Regions from separate parts of the Homo sapiens genome. Here all the other regions are linked to region 2. Evidence: promoter capture Hi-C in 16 types of primary human blood cells and fetal thymus (Javierre and others, 2016). All regions are on one chromosome and are shown on one strand. The core of a region is centred on a gene start or on the middle of the fragment in contact, and the rest is flanking DNA. Distances in the headings are between cores, read along the strand shown. Region 1 overlaps TATDN2 (TatD DNase domain containing 2). Region 2 holds the start of MTMR14 (myotubularin related protein 14). Region 3 holds the start of GHRL (ghrelin and obestatin prepropeptide).

Region 1 (4,291 bases), core at 604-3,103, 610 kb before region 2:
AGCTAGAGAGAGAAAGAGAGAAGAAAAATACGGAAAGAAAACATCAGCGAAGTACAGTAATTCACGAACTTTTCCCACAGCTAAAGTACAAGGGTTTCTAGATTGAAAGGGAATGTCCCATGCTAAGCAAAGTAGACACCACCACCATGAAATTTCAGAGCCCTGAGATCAAAATATATTCTACAAGATTCCACAGAGGGAAAAAAAAAAAAAATACAGGTTGGGCACGGTGGCTCACACCTGTAATCCCAGCACTTTGGGAGGCTGAGCCGGGCGGATCATGAGGTCAGGAGTTCGACACCAGCCTCACCAAAATGGTGAAACCCCATCTCTACTAAAAATACAAAAATTAGCCGGGTGTGGTGGCACATGCCTGTAATCCCAGCTACTCACAAGGCTGAGGCAGGAGAATCGCTTGAACCTGGGAGGTGAAGATTGCAGTGAGCTGAGATCACGCCACTGGACTCCAACCTGGGTGACAGAGCAAAACTCTGTCTCAAAGCAAAAGAAAATAAAAAATAAAAAATCATATACCAAGGTTCAGGAACCAGCATAGCTTCAGACATCAAGAAAACCAGAAGAGGCCAGGCGAAGTGGCTTACACCTGTAATCTCAGTACTTTGGGAAGCCTAGGCAGGTGGATCACCTCAGGTCAGAAGTTTGAGACCAGCCTGGCCAACATGATGAAACTCTGTCTCTACCAAAAATACAAAATTAGCCAGGTGTGGTGGCGTGTGCCTGTAATCCCAGCTACTCGGGAGGCTGAGACAGGAGAATCACTTGAACCCAGGAAGTGGAGGCTGCAGTGAGCCAAGATCACACCAGTGCACTCCAGCCTGGGCAAGACAGAACGAGACTCCACCTCAAAAAAAAAAAAAAAAAAAAAAAAGCCCAGAAGAAAAGGAGCAATGCCTTCAAAATCCCAAACAAAACAATTTCCAACCTGGAATTCCAAAACCAACCAAGCTTGTAATCAAGGTTAAAGGTAAAATAAAGGCAATCTCAGACACATGTTTACCAAAAAAAGTTTCTCCATGTACCCTTTCTCAAGAAGCTACTAGAAAAAGTATTCCACCAAAATGTGAGAGTAAACCAAGGAAGAAGAACATGAGAAGACACAGAGTATAGGTAGCAGAAGACTCAATCCGGGAGAAATGTGAAGGAGGCTCCAGAGAGACAGCTGCCAGCTGGCCTGACGGCAGGCAGTCCAGACCAGAGCAGGACAACAGAGGGCTGAGGACGTATACCTCCAAGAGAGAAAAAAAAGAAACAGATTCCTTATTTTGACAGTATTGAGAAGGATTTTACAGCTCTCGCAGTTTGGGGATTAATTAGTGAAAGGTACCAGGAAAACCAAAGGAAAAACAAAGTAATGATGAACTTTAAGGAAAATGAAGTTTTACAAGAAAGAAAATGTGATCAGAGTATACAAGGCGACTCAGCTGTGAACATGGCAGTAACAAATCTTACACAGACTTAACCCAAAAGGTATTCAAGCCACACAGGGAGGCTGCAGAAAGGGGAAGCTAATGTGTCCCTGGGTGTGGGTGCTTCTGAAGGAGGTATAGAGAACTAAATTCTCATCGCCCAAGCAAGAAGTCCTCAGACATCTAAAACTGAAAAACTGATCAACAGTAAAGATTATTTAGAAACATGGGGTAAGTACTAGAAGAAAGAGCTAAAGATGAGAGAAGCTGCCTGCAGAGCAGTAGTAAAGGATGGGTGGAGACGAGTAAGATGGAGGAATGTGGCCTGGCACAGTGGCTCATGCCTGTAATCCCGGCACTTTGGGAGGCCAAGGCAGGTGGATCACGAGGTCAGGAGTTCGAGACCAGCCTGGCCAACATGGAGAAATCCCATATCTACTAAAAATACAAAAATTAGCCGGTTTGGTGGCGCACACCTGTAATCCCAGCTACTCAGGAGGCTGAGGCAGGAGAATTGCTTGAACCCAGGAGGTGGAGGTTGCAGTGAGCCAAGATTGCACCATCGCACTCCAGCCTGGGCAACAGAGCAAGACTCTGTCCCAACAACAAAAAAAAAAAAAAAAAGAAAAAGATGGAGGAATGCTTCCCCTCAATTATAAGCTATGTTAAAAATCACTAGTTTCCGTCCAATGACATCCTTCCCTTCTTCTCTGGTTATCCAGGTACAAGTCTGCCTAGATAAAGGCTGATTTTCCAGACTCCCTTGCAGCCAGGTGTCAGCCGGGTTTCCCCGCTCTTGTCAACAGCAGATACAACATGTGCAACTCTTGAGCCAAGCTCTTAACAGGGAAGGAATGCACTCTCCTCTTCTCCCCTTCCCACTGGCCAGAATGCCCAGATAACAAACCCTGAGTCCTATCAGAGTATCCATTTCACACCAAGAGATGGACACTGTGTTGAGGGGTGATAGAGAATCAAGACAAAAGGTACCAGTATCTCTGACATGATGGAGCCATCCTTCTTAAGCCAAACTTATATTCTGTTTAAGCCACTGTGATTTTGGCCTTTTACACAGCAGCTAAACCCATATCCTAACATATAAATCCTTCAAAAAAAAAAAAAAGCACTTAGTTTAGGTTTATTAATAACTCTGAAAATCTGAAAAGTATGTTAGAAGAAAACCATCAGTTTGTTCCCTGGAGGCCTGGTTAAGTAAAGTACTATTTTTAATTAGTAACACTTAGGATCAAACTAGAAAGATGGAACACATTTCATCAACAGAACTAAAAAGTCAGATGCCTGGTACAAGCTTTACTCACCTTTTGGATTTCTAAATGAGAGTCAGAGTCATCCAAGAACTCTAGGGGTGGAGAGCATTTGTCAATGACAGTCCTTCGGTCCCCAAGGGGCTCCTCACTGGGTTTCTCTTGAGGGTCTATAACTACTCTCCTGTCATAGAAGCTGCTCCTCTCTGGCACTGTCTTATCCTCCTCCATGCTGACCTCTGGGGTTGCGTCTTTCTCCTTCTGAGCAGCAGTGACTGTGACACTCCTGGCTGCTCCTTCTGCAGTCTTGGCTGGTCCTTCACTCCTGGCTGGTCCTTCTCCATGGCTGGGATGCTCTGCTGCGCTTGGTTTTGCCCGAGTGGCAGCCTCTCCCTTCCTTTTTGGCATCGATTTCCCCAGGATGCCCTGGATAGCCTTCAGGTAGATCATTGTGGAGCCCTGGTCTCGAAGTCTATCCCTCTTCCTTTTCTGGACCTTGTTGGGTTCCTCAATTGTATCATTCTGACCCTCAGCTTCAGCTGCAAATTCAGAGTTTGTGGAGTTATGAGAACTATCTTTGGAATCAACCTGGGAAAAAAAAAACAGAATTGAAAGGGCTGTTCCAAGGGCACTTTCGTACATGAAGCATTTGGCAAATTATAAATCAGTGGTGGTTCTACCAGTCAAAGGGAAAGTGACTGTGGCTAAGGCAAAGGTTCTCTCCGGGTGGTGAAGTGGCACTGTAAGAGGGGCTGATTGCTGCCATTTCTTAGCATTCGCCTTCTCATGCTCAGCAGATGATATCCTTTCACTGCAAGGGGACGGAAGGAGCTGAAATGAACACTCTCATTAAACCAGACTGCAAGCTCCTGGAAGGCAAGGACTACACTTCAGGCAAAACAGCAGCTCAAGCTCTTCCCACTGGAAAGGGCCCTAGAAACCAGCTAGCCCAATCCCATATCTAAGGGTAAAGGAAACCTGAGGACCCAGTGAGGGGAAGGGCTAGCCCCAGGAACTCCAATCCCCCAGTTCTGAGTGCAGTGTTTTTCCCACCATACCCAAAGCCTCCTGAAAGTTCTCTGCAAACACTTCCCCTCAAATAATCAACTTGGTTTTGGAAAATACCTCAGTTTCTCAGTGACTGCACCAGGGTCAGTCAAGATAGACTGCTCCCAACAACAAACCTCCTCCAAGACGGAAGTGAAGCCTCAGCCCCCTCTTGCACCCACTCACTCCAGGACTCCACACAGAAAAAGCTAGACTTTGTTTGCCAGACTATTTTGATGTGAAATTCTAATCCAGTCTAATCCCTGCCGGGTGTAAGAACTCTCCACAAATGTCCTCCTAAGGCCATTCCATAAGCAGTAAACCATTATCCCATTTGCATTCCTAAGTCATTTCTATTAAATTCCTCTCAAAAGTAAATACAGACCAGGTACAGTGGCTCATGCCTGTAATCCAGCACTTTGGGAAGCCGAGGCAGGTGGACTGCTTGAACCCAGGAGGTCGAGACAAGCCTGGCCAACATGGCGAAACCCCATCTCTATAAAACACACGGGGCGCGGTGGCTCATGCCTGTAATCCCAACACTTTGGGAGG
Region 2 (4,351 bases), core at 688-3,187:
AAAAACCAATGACCTACAGCCACTCAAAAGACCCTTACTGGCCAGGTGTGGCGGCTCACGCCTGTAATCCCAGCATTTTGGGGGGCTGAGGTGGGAGGATTGCTTGAGCTTAGGAGTTTGAGACCAGCCAGGGCAATATAGCGAGACCATGTCTCTAGGAAAATAAAGAAAAATTAGCCAGGCATGGTGGTGTGTACCTGTGGTCCCAGGTGCTTGGCAGGCTTAAGTGGGAGGATCGCTCAAACCCAGGATTTCGAGGCTGCAGTAAGTCATGGTTGCACCACTGCAATCCAGCCTGGGCAGCAGAGCGAGACCCTGTCTCAACACAAAAAACAAAAACAAACAAACAAAAAAGCCAGGCGCGGTGGCTCACGCCTGTATCCCAGCACTTTGGGAGGCTGAGGTAGGCGGATCACCTGAGCTCAGGAGTTCAAGACCAGCCTGGCCAACCTGGGGAAACTCCATCTCTACTAAAAACTACAATAATTAGCTGGGCGTGGTGGTGGGGTCCTGTAATCCCAGCTACTTGGGAAGTTGAGGCAGGGAGAATTGCTTGAACTGGGGAGGCGGAGGATGCAGTAAGCTGAGATTGCGCCACTGCACTCCAGCCTAGGCGACAAAGCGAGACTCCTTCTCAAAAGAAAAAAAAAAAAAAAGCAAATTCCAGGATCCCACCCCCAGAAATTCTGACTTGGTAGGACTGGGTGGGACTAAGGAATCTCTGTTTTCACAAAGTATCCCATAAGCACAAATTTTAAAAGTACCCCAGATGATCATTAAACAGGTGGTCCCCAGACTATACTTGGAAAAATTACTTGGCCATTTGGAGAGTGAGGAAGTCCAATCCTTACTGAAGTCTTCCCTGGGTTACTTCAGAGACTACAAGATGCCAACTACAGAATAGCAACTCACGGTAATCTCTGAGGTCAAATCAGAGTTCTGTGGTGCAGGATGGAACAGAATTCCACTGGAAAACTTGGTGCTAAAGCTGCCAAAACCACGTGGGGGAATGAGATGGCAGGGTCGGCAAGATTCCCACCGCACTGCCAGCCAGTGCTTAGGGTGGGGATGGCCTGAGCTGACAGGAAGCCCTCCAGGTCTGGCGATAAGACGACTGGGTGGAAATCCCAAAGGGAGCAAAAAGAGGAACGGAGACCTGCTTTAGATAAAGGAACTGAAAGGGAGTGTGGGTTGTCTTCCTGCTCTATAGGGGAAGGAAAGGGATGGGCCTAAGTCATGCTGAGACCTTATAAGGGGGCAGCACACTGGGTTCACCTCCTGGCTCCATTCTGACCTCTGACCCCGAGGAATCGTCTCCCTATTTTTCTTAGCTTTTTCTTGGGGCTTTTTCCCTGACACAACTCATCCTACGGCACCTGAAGCAGGGAATAGACCTTCCTTAGGTCCTCCTCTCTGATCTTTGAACCTGGCCCCTCAGCTTGATCTCTCACCTCCAGACCCCTTCTCAAACAAGAAGGACCTCTTTGCTGGGCTCATTCTGACCCCAGTTCCTCCTTTTATGGTTGTCAAGACCGACTCTTATACTCCGGATACAGACCCTGGAGAACTCCTCTCTCTCTCTCCTCTTCCTCAGCGGCGAGGTACCACTCCTACCTTTTTCTGACCCCTGGCCTCAGCCTTTCCTCTGTAACTTCCCAAGTTAGGAGCCTTCCCCAGCTCATCGCACCTCCAATCTCACCTTAGAGCCGCCGGTCCCGCTGCCATCCTTGGCCCGGTACTGAGTCCGGGAGAACTCCTCCAGCAGCTCCCCAAGCCCCAGCTCCTGAGGCGGCTGGTTGCCTGAAGAGGCCGAGGACCCCGCCGAGGCAGCGGCGGCGGCGGCCCGAGCGCCGGCCATGGCCCAGCCCCGCGTCCCCTCAGTGTGCCTCAAGCGGGCCCATGGCACCTGCCTGCACCCAACTCCGACACTAGAACCTCCGGAACCGCCTCAGCCACCGCCTTCTACTTCCACTTCCACTTCCGGCCCCGCCCCGTCCCGCCGGATGTTTACTCCGACTCTGGCCAATCGGAGCTCTGGACCCGCGCCCCGCCTACGATTACTGGCCCGCCCCCGGCGCAGAGCGATCCTTCTATCCACCAGGGAGGCCACTGGCTGATACCGCGTGATCCGCCCCAAGGGGTTTCCCCCGGGGAAGCCGGGCTCAACCATTGGGCTGCCGGGGGAGGGGGGTAGCAGGAAGGAACCATTGAAAAGAACCAGAGGAAAAGTGGAATCAACAATTACAGGGAAGCCGAGCGTGGTGGCTCACACCTGTCATCCCAGCACTTTGGGGGGCCGAGGCGGGCGGATCACTTGAGGCCAAGAGTTCGAGACCAGGCTGCCAAAATGGTGAAACCGCATCTCTACTAAAAATAAAAAAATTAGCCGGGCATGGTGACACCCACCTGTAATCCCAACTACTTGGGAGGCTGAGGCAGGAGAATCGCTTGAACCCATGAGGCTGAGGTTGCAATGAGCCGAAATCGAACCACTACACTCCAGCCTGGGTGACAGAGCAATACTCTGTCTTAAGAAAAAAAAAAAATTACAGGGCGAGGAGGAGAGAACGCTTGGAGGCAACAAATTAGTACTAGAAACCATAATGGCAGTGGTTACCAATATTAAAACATTTCAGCCGGCCGCGGTGTCTCACGCCTGTAATCCCAGCACTTTGGTAGGCCGAGGCAGGCGGATTATGAAGTGAGGCATTCGAGACCAGCCTGATCAACGCAGTGAAACCCCGTCTCTACTAAAAATACAAAAATTAGCCGCGCGTGGTGGCAGGTGCCTGTAATCCCAGCTACTCGGGAGGCTGAGGCAGGAGAATTGCTTGAACCCGGGAGGCGGAGAGTGAGCCGAGATCGCGCCACTGCACTCCAGCCTGGGTGACAGAATGAGACTCCGTCTCTAAAACAAAAACAAAAACACAACATTTCATAAAACCCTTTCTCCCCCTGCTGCTCACAACATCCCTGTGAGTACAGTGCATTATATCATCAGCCCTATTTTATTGAGGTAGAAACTGGGAGTCAGGGAGGTGAAGCGACTGCCTTGAAATTCTGTGATGAGAAGCCTCTCATTATTATTATTATTAGAATATTTCAGACATTCGCAAAAGTGGAGACAATAGTATAATGAACCCTCATGTACCCATTAACTGGTTTTGAACAATAATCAACATCTGCTTATCTATCCTGTTTAAGCAGTCCCTTCCCATCCAGGGAATTATTTTAAAGCAAATCCCAGACATCACATTATTTCAGCTGTGAATACTTAAGCATTTATCACAACAGATTTGTACTTCAAAAAAAAAATACATAAAAAATATAAGGCTATTAACATGCCTAAGAAAATTAACAATATTCCTTAATGTGGTCTAATACCCAGTCTGAATGAAAGTAATTCGTTTTTGTTAAACTTTTAATAGAAGTATGATATGTACACCAGCGCCCCGGAACCCTCCTCCTGACCACTTTCAGTCACTACCCACTCACCAACAACCACCCACCACCCTGCCCCCCCAACTCCTCCCACCCCCAGTTAATCACTATCCTGGCTTCTAGAGTTTTAATACGGTAGATTGGTTTTTAATTTAATTTAATTTTTTTTTTTTTTTTTTTTTTAGAAACGGTTTCACTCTTGTTGCCTAAGCTGGAGTACAGTGGCATGATCGTGGCTCACTGCAGCCTCCAACTACTGGCCTCAAGCAATCCTCCTGCCTCAGCCTCCCAAGTAGCTGTGACTACAGGCATGTGCCACCACACCCAGCTACTTTTTAAATTTTTTTGTAGATACCGAGTCTCACCATGTTGTCCAGGCGAGTCTCAAACTCCTGGGCTCAAGCAATCCTCCCACGTCTGCCACCCAAAGTGCTGGGATTACAGGTTTGAGCCACTACTCCTGGCCTACTAGATATTTTCTGACAAATCTATATACGCATTTGTCTTAAACACCAAGGAATGAAATGACTGGATTATATGGTGTTAAAGAAAAATTACAGGCCGGGCATGGTGGCTCATGCCTGTAATCCCAGCACTTTGGAAGGCCAAGGTAAACTGATTACCTGAGCCCAGGAGTTCGAGACGAGCCTGGGCAACACGGTGAGACCCCCATCTCTACAAGAAAATCAACCAGGTGTGGTGGCGCACATTGAGAGGCTACTTGGGAGGCTGAGGTGGGAGAGGATCCCTTGAGCCAGGGAGGTTGAGGCTGCAATGAGCTGTGATCATGAAACTGTACTCCAGTCTGGGTGACAGAGCGAGACTCTTGAGACTCTGCCTTAAAAAAAAAAAAAAAAAAGAAAAAAATTATAGGCCATTATTTTGGACAAAGCACCCGCACTAGATCCTA
Region 3 (4,204 bases), core at 1,600-4,099, 640 kb before region 2:
CCATCTCTAGCAAAAATACAAAAATTAGCTGGGTGTGGTGGCGCATGCCTGTAGTCCCAGCTATTCAGGAGGCTGAGGCAGGAGAATTGCTTGAACCCAGGAGGTATGGGTTGCAGTGAGCCAAGATCACGCCACTGCACTCTAACCTGGACAACAGAGCAAGACTCCATCTCAAAAAAAAAAAAAAAAAAAAAAAAAAAACAAATATGACTTCAACATATTGCAAATACCTTCAACAACTCCGATATCCCTTTGCAAATATCCCTTTACAGGCTGAGGTGGGAGGATCAGTTGAGCCCAGAAGGTGGAGGCTGCAGTGAGTTGAGATCACGCCATTGCATTCAACCACAGGTGACACAGTGAGACCCTGTCTCAAATAAAAAAGAAAAGAAAAATGGATCTGCACTAAGGAATAAGGAGCAACACGATAGTAAATACCTGAGTTCATAAGACTTTTTCTTAATTTCTTTAATCTGTCTAAAAACTTTGGCTATTTAACATGCATTGTGGGGCTCATACCTTAAGTAAAAATAAAATGTGTGACAATAATATCACAAAGAATAGAAGTGGGGAAATGAAAGCATTCTGTGGTGCAGTTCTTACACTATCTGTGAAAGGATATCGTAGTTGTTGAAGGTATTCTGCAATATGTTGAAGTCATATTTGTAAATCCTAGAGCAACCACTCAAAGAATAGAACAGTACAGTATAGCTAATAAGCCGACGGTGAAGACAAAATGATACCATTCAAAACCCTCTAAAAGTGGTTATGACAAGAGAAAGAAAAGGAAGAACAGATGGGACAATGGAAAAATTGGTGACTTACAAATAGTCTGGAGATTAACAGTAATGTGCTAACACTGGTGTTTTAATTTTGATAAATGTACTACGGTTATATAAGATATTCACGAGTGGAAACTGAATTGGGTTATTCAGAGAGAAAGATTTCATCTTCCATATGTTTATATTTTCTGCTGGAAGCAAGCATTTATAATCAAAATTTACCTGGGATACTTGGTAATTTATAATCAAAATTACCTGAGATACTTGAAACAGATTCTAAAGCCCCCACGCCAGAGCTACTGGATCAGAATCCAAGGATGGAGTCTTATAAACGTGCATAAAACTTATGAAGCTTTCCTCATGAATCCAACACAACCCAACACAGGTCTGTATCTGGAAATTGAGACGAGATGGCCCTCCAAGCCACGTCCCACCCTGAGGTCGTCCTATGGCTCTTAGCGGTCCATAGACTAAAAGGCTGGATGATCAGCAACGCTGAGACAACAGTTTCAGTACAGCAGTGGGGATGAGAGGCAAGGTCAAGTTTTGAGGGGCCAGGACACAGCAAAGAAGAGGACACAAGGAAAGGGGAAGGAAATGGAGATGGTAACACGAGGGGAGGGTGGGATCGGTGCACAACAGACGTTTTCAGGATTAGGAACCTGGGTGTATTTTAAGGCAGAAAGCAGAAGCCACTGGAGGGGAACAGAAGACACGAGAGAGGCAAAGTGTTAGAGCTTTGGCCCCAAGATGGCCGGAGGCTAGGGAAGCCCCAGTGAGAGAGGCAGAGCTTGGCGAAGAGGAGGGATGAGAGAGCATGGCTAAGGTCAGGGAGGATTTAAGAGCGATGGCCGCCTATCTAGAATGAGCCGCATGTGGCTGCTGAGCATTTGAAACATGGCTAGTCCAAATTGAAATGCACTGTAAGAACACACACTGGATTTCAAAGACTACACATCTGTAATCCCAGCACTTTGGGAGGCAAAGTCAGGCAGATCACTTAAGCCAGGAGTTCAAGACCAGCCTAGGCAACATGTCAAGACTCTGTCTCTACAAAAAATACAAAAATTAACTGGGTGTGGTGGTGTGACCTGTAGTCCCAGCTACTTGGGAGCCTGAGGTGGGAGGATCATCTTAGTCCAGGGAGGTGGAGGCTGCAGTGAGCCATGATAGTGCCACTGCACTCCAGCCTGGGTGACAGAGCAAGAACCTGTCTCAAAAAAATATATATGTATATTCATTTAGACATATGCTGTTGCACACTTAGACTATAGTATGGTATCAGCATACGTTTTATATTTACTGGGAAACCAACAAAATTCGTGTGACTTGCTTCATTGTGGTCTGGGACCAAAGCTGTAATGCCTCCAAGGTATGCCTGTATATTTCTATTGCAAAATGTGAATCTCGAAATTATAAAAGCTACAACTAGGACAAAAAGCAACCCCACCAAATAGCCCTATATCAAAGAATAAAATCTCTTTCTAGAACCCCAGAATTTGCCTCTTTCAGACTGAAGTTTAGCCAAATCTATGAAAAAAGAGCTTGCTAAACCAACTAATTATCAGTACAAATAAAATTATAATGAAAAGTCTATGAAGATAATTTGTTCTCAGATGCCCTTCACATATAGCAATTAATTCACAAATGATGAGTCACTCATGTGCCTTCATGAAGGCAGGCCCTCAAGAGACCCGCAACAGAAAGGAAAGCCACCGACTGGAGAGAACCTGCTTCCTGAGCCCCACCAAGTTCCAAAAAGGAGAATGGGGCTTCGTCCTCACCCTCAAGGAGTTGCCAAACTGGGCTTGGTTATTATTCACACTTGAAAAGAATGAGGAAGGTCAGCCAGTCCCCTCCAGGTCGCTCGGGCTTCCTCCAAGCTCCTCTTGGTTCAAATTTGCTGTGTCCTCCAGCCGGCATCTCTCCTCTGTTCCGTAACTGACAGGGCAGCGAGGTAGCTTCCGGATGACTCCTCCCGCCATGGTTCTTCCGTCCATCAGCTCTTCCTTCCTCAACTCTGTGGTATGTGGCTAGGGGAGTTTCCAACTCCCAGGGGACATTTCAGTTCCCCAAAGATAACACAGCTTTGCACAGTGGATGTTTACTTGCTGGTGGTCTTATCTAAGATCAACATTGGCAGCTGTGCCCGGAGAGGCCTCCAGGGTCCAGGTAAGTGGAGGCTTCATGTCTCAGGAGGTACCTGGTCACCACAGTTAGGATTTTTCTGTTTGGGGATTTTTTTTTTTATGGGTTGGTGGCTCTGAAAAAGCTGCAAGTCTTCTCTGAGGACTACAGACCTCTCTCCACCCTCTCCACATTCAGCCTCTCTGGGCTCCAGGGCCAAAAGATGTCTACACTCAGGTGGCAGACAGGCCTGTGAAGACCTCCTGGTGACATGCTCATATGTTGCTGGGACTAAAGGTGGGATTTTAGCCACCACAGTGGGTTGGTGGTGAGATGTTTACCAACAGGAGGTACTTTGTCCCTCATGTCCACTTAAAGATTCAGTCCAACCCGGCCTGTGCTTCTGCTGTCCCAAGAGACTCTAGAAAGCTCCAATCCTCCCTGAGGTTGATCTTTTAAGTCAGGGTAGGTGGTCATTCGGCAATCAACTGCTCTACTGCCTCAATGTCCTCCTCACTGGACGTCCTGCCCCAATTCCATCCTGTTCAGCGCAGACTGATTTTCCTGGAACACAATGTTCATTATGGAGCCAGATGGCATATCAGAAAGAGCACTGTATTAGGAGTCAAGAGATCCATGGGGGAATCCCAGCATTGCCCCTGATGGCTGTATAGCTTTGGGGAAAGTGAGGCCCTCTTGGCATTCAGTTTTTCTTCCAGCGAAATAAAGGATTCAGCCTCCCAGAGCTTTAAAGTCTTTCCAACTCTTTCATTCATTCTATGGTCTCTCTCTCCTCAAGAATCCTCAGTGGCTGCCCTCCTGCAAAAAAAGCCCAAACTTCTTGGGCTAGCAGTTCCCAAGGCATCCATCACCTGGCCCCAAACCACCTTCTTATGTTTTTGTTATGACCCCATCGCCACCCTCCCCCAAGCCACCCAGCCTTCTCCATGCTGCCCTGATGTACTCTACCCACGCCTTCACCTCCCCTCTGCTTGCCGCAAAGCCCTCCCTCCAAAGCCCTGCCCCGAGTTCACCACAGGCCTCTTTCCTGGAGCCTTTGCTAACATCCCTGCCGCAAGCCCCAGCCTAAGGTGAGCTCCTCTCCTGAACTGCTAGAACTTCTCTGCAGACAACTCATTGGCCCTTAGGGGTTCCTGCCTGGGCACCCAGTTGGATGAAGCACTCCAGAAAGGAAGAAATTCCTGGGGCCGAGGGAAATGAGGCAGTGGCCTTGGCCTATGCTGGGAAGTCCTATGGGCCTGGTATGAAACCATTGTCATCTGCAGGGTGTTTCA

The links. Contacts are between HindIII fragments. The CHiCAGO score rates a contact against its expected background, and 5 or more counts as called.
Region 1: a contact is called between a fragment that was not itself captured here and the fragment with the promoter of MTMR14 in region 2, in 1 of 17 cell types (monocytes). The highest score is 5.3, in monocytes.
Region 3: the fragment with the promoter of GHRL here is called in contact with the fragment with the promoter of MTMR14 in region 2 in 2 of 17 cell types (neutrophils and monocytes); the score reaches 6.5 in neutrophils.

What each region holds. Positions count from the first base shown.
Region 1 is chr3:10,259,126-10,263,416 of GRCh38, reverse strand. It overlaps TATDN2 (TatD DNase domain containing 2), which reads right to left. Exons shown (of 8, transcript NM_014760.4): 3 at 2,747-3,280. Among named protein-coding and RNA genes, the nearest start is that of TATDN2, 13 kb to the right of the region's middle. The HindIII fragment of the contact is 1,770 bases long and covers 969-2,738 here.
Region 2 is chr3:9,647,091-9,651,441 of GRCh38, reverse strand. It overlaps MTMR14 (myotubularin related protein 14), which reads right to left and starts at 1,937. Exons shown (of 19, transcript NM_001077525.3): 1 at 1,700-1,937. The coding sequence starts at 1,858. RefSeq lists silencers at 1,773-1,872, 1,973-2,082 and enhancers at 1,954-2,123, 1,410-2,305, 2,113-2,342. The HindIII fragment of the contact is 16,951 bases long and covers 1-4,351 here.
Region 3 is chr3:10,291,592-10,295,795 of GRCh38, reverse strand. GHRL (ghrelin and obestatin prepropeptide) reads left to right here and starts at 2,849. Exons shown (of 6, transcript NM_016362.5): 1 at 2,849-2,954. It overlaps GHRLOS (ghrelin opposite strand/antisense RNA), which reads right to left. Exons shown (of 6, transcript NR_073568.1): 6 at 2,347-3,728. RefSeq lists enhancers at 2,657-2,951, 2,762-3,011, 3,022-3,091. The HindIII fragment of the contact is 7,186 bases long and covers 1,137-4,204 here.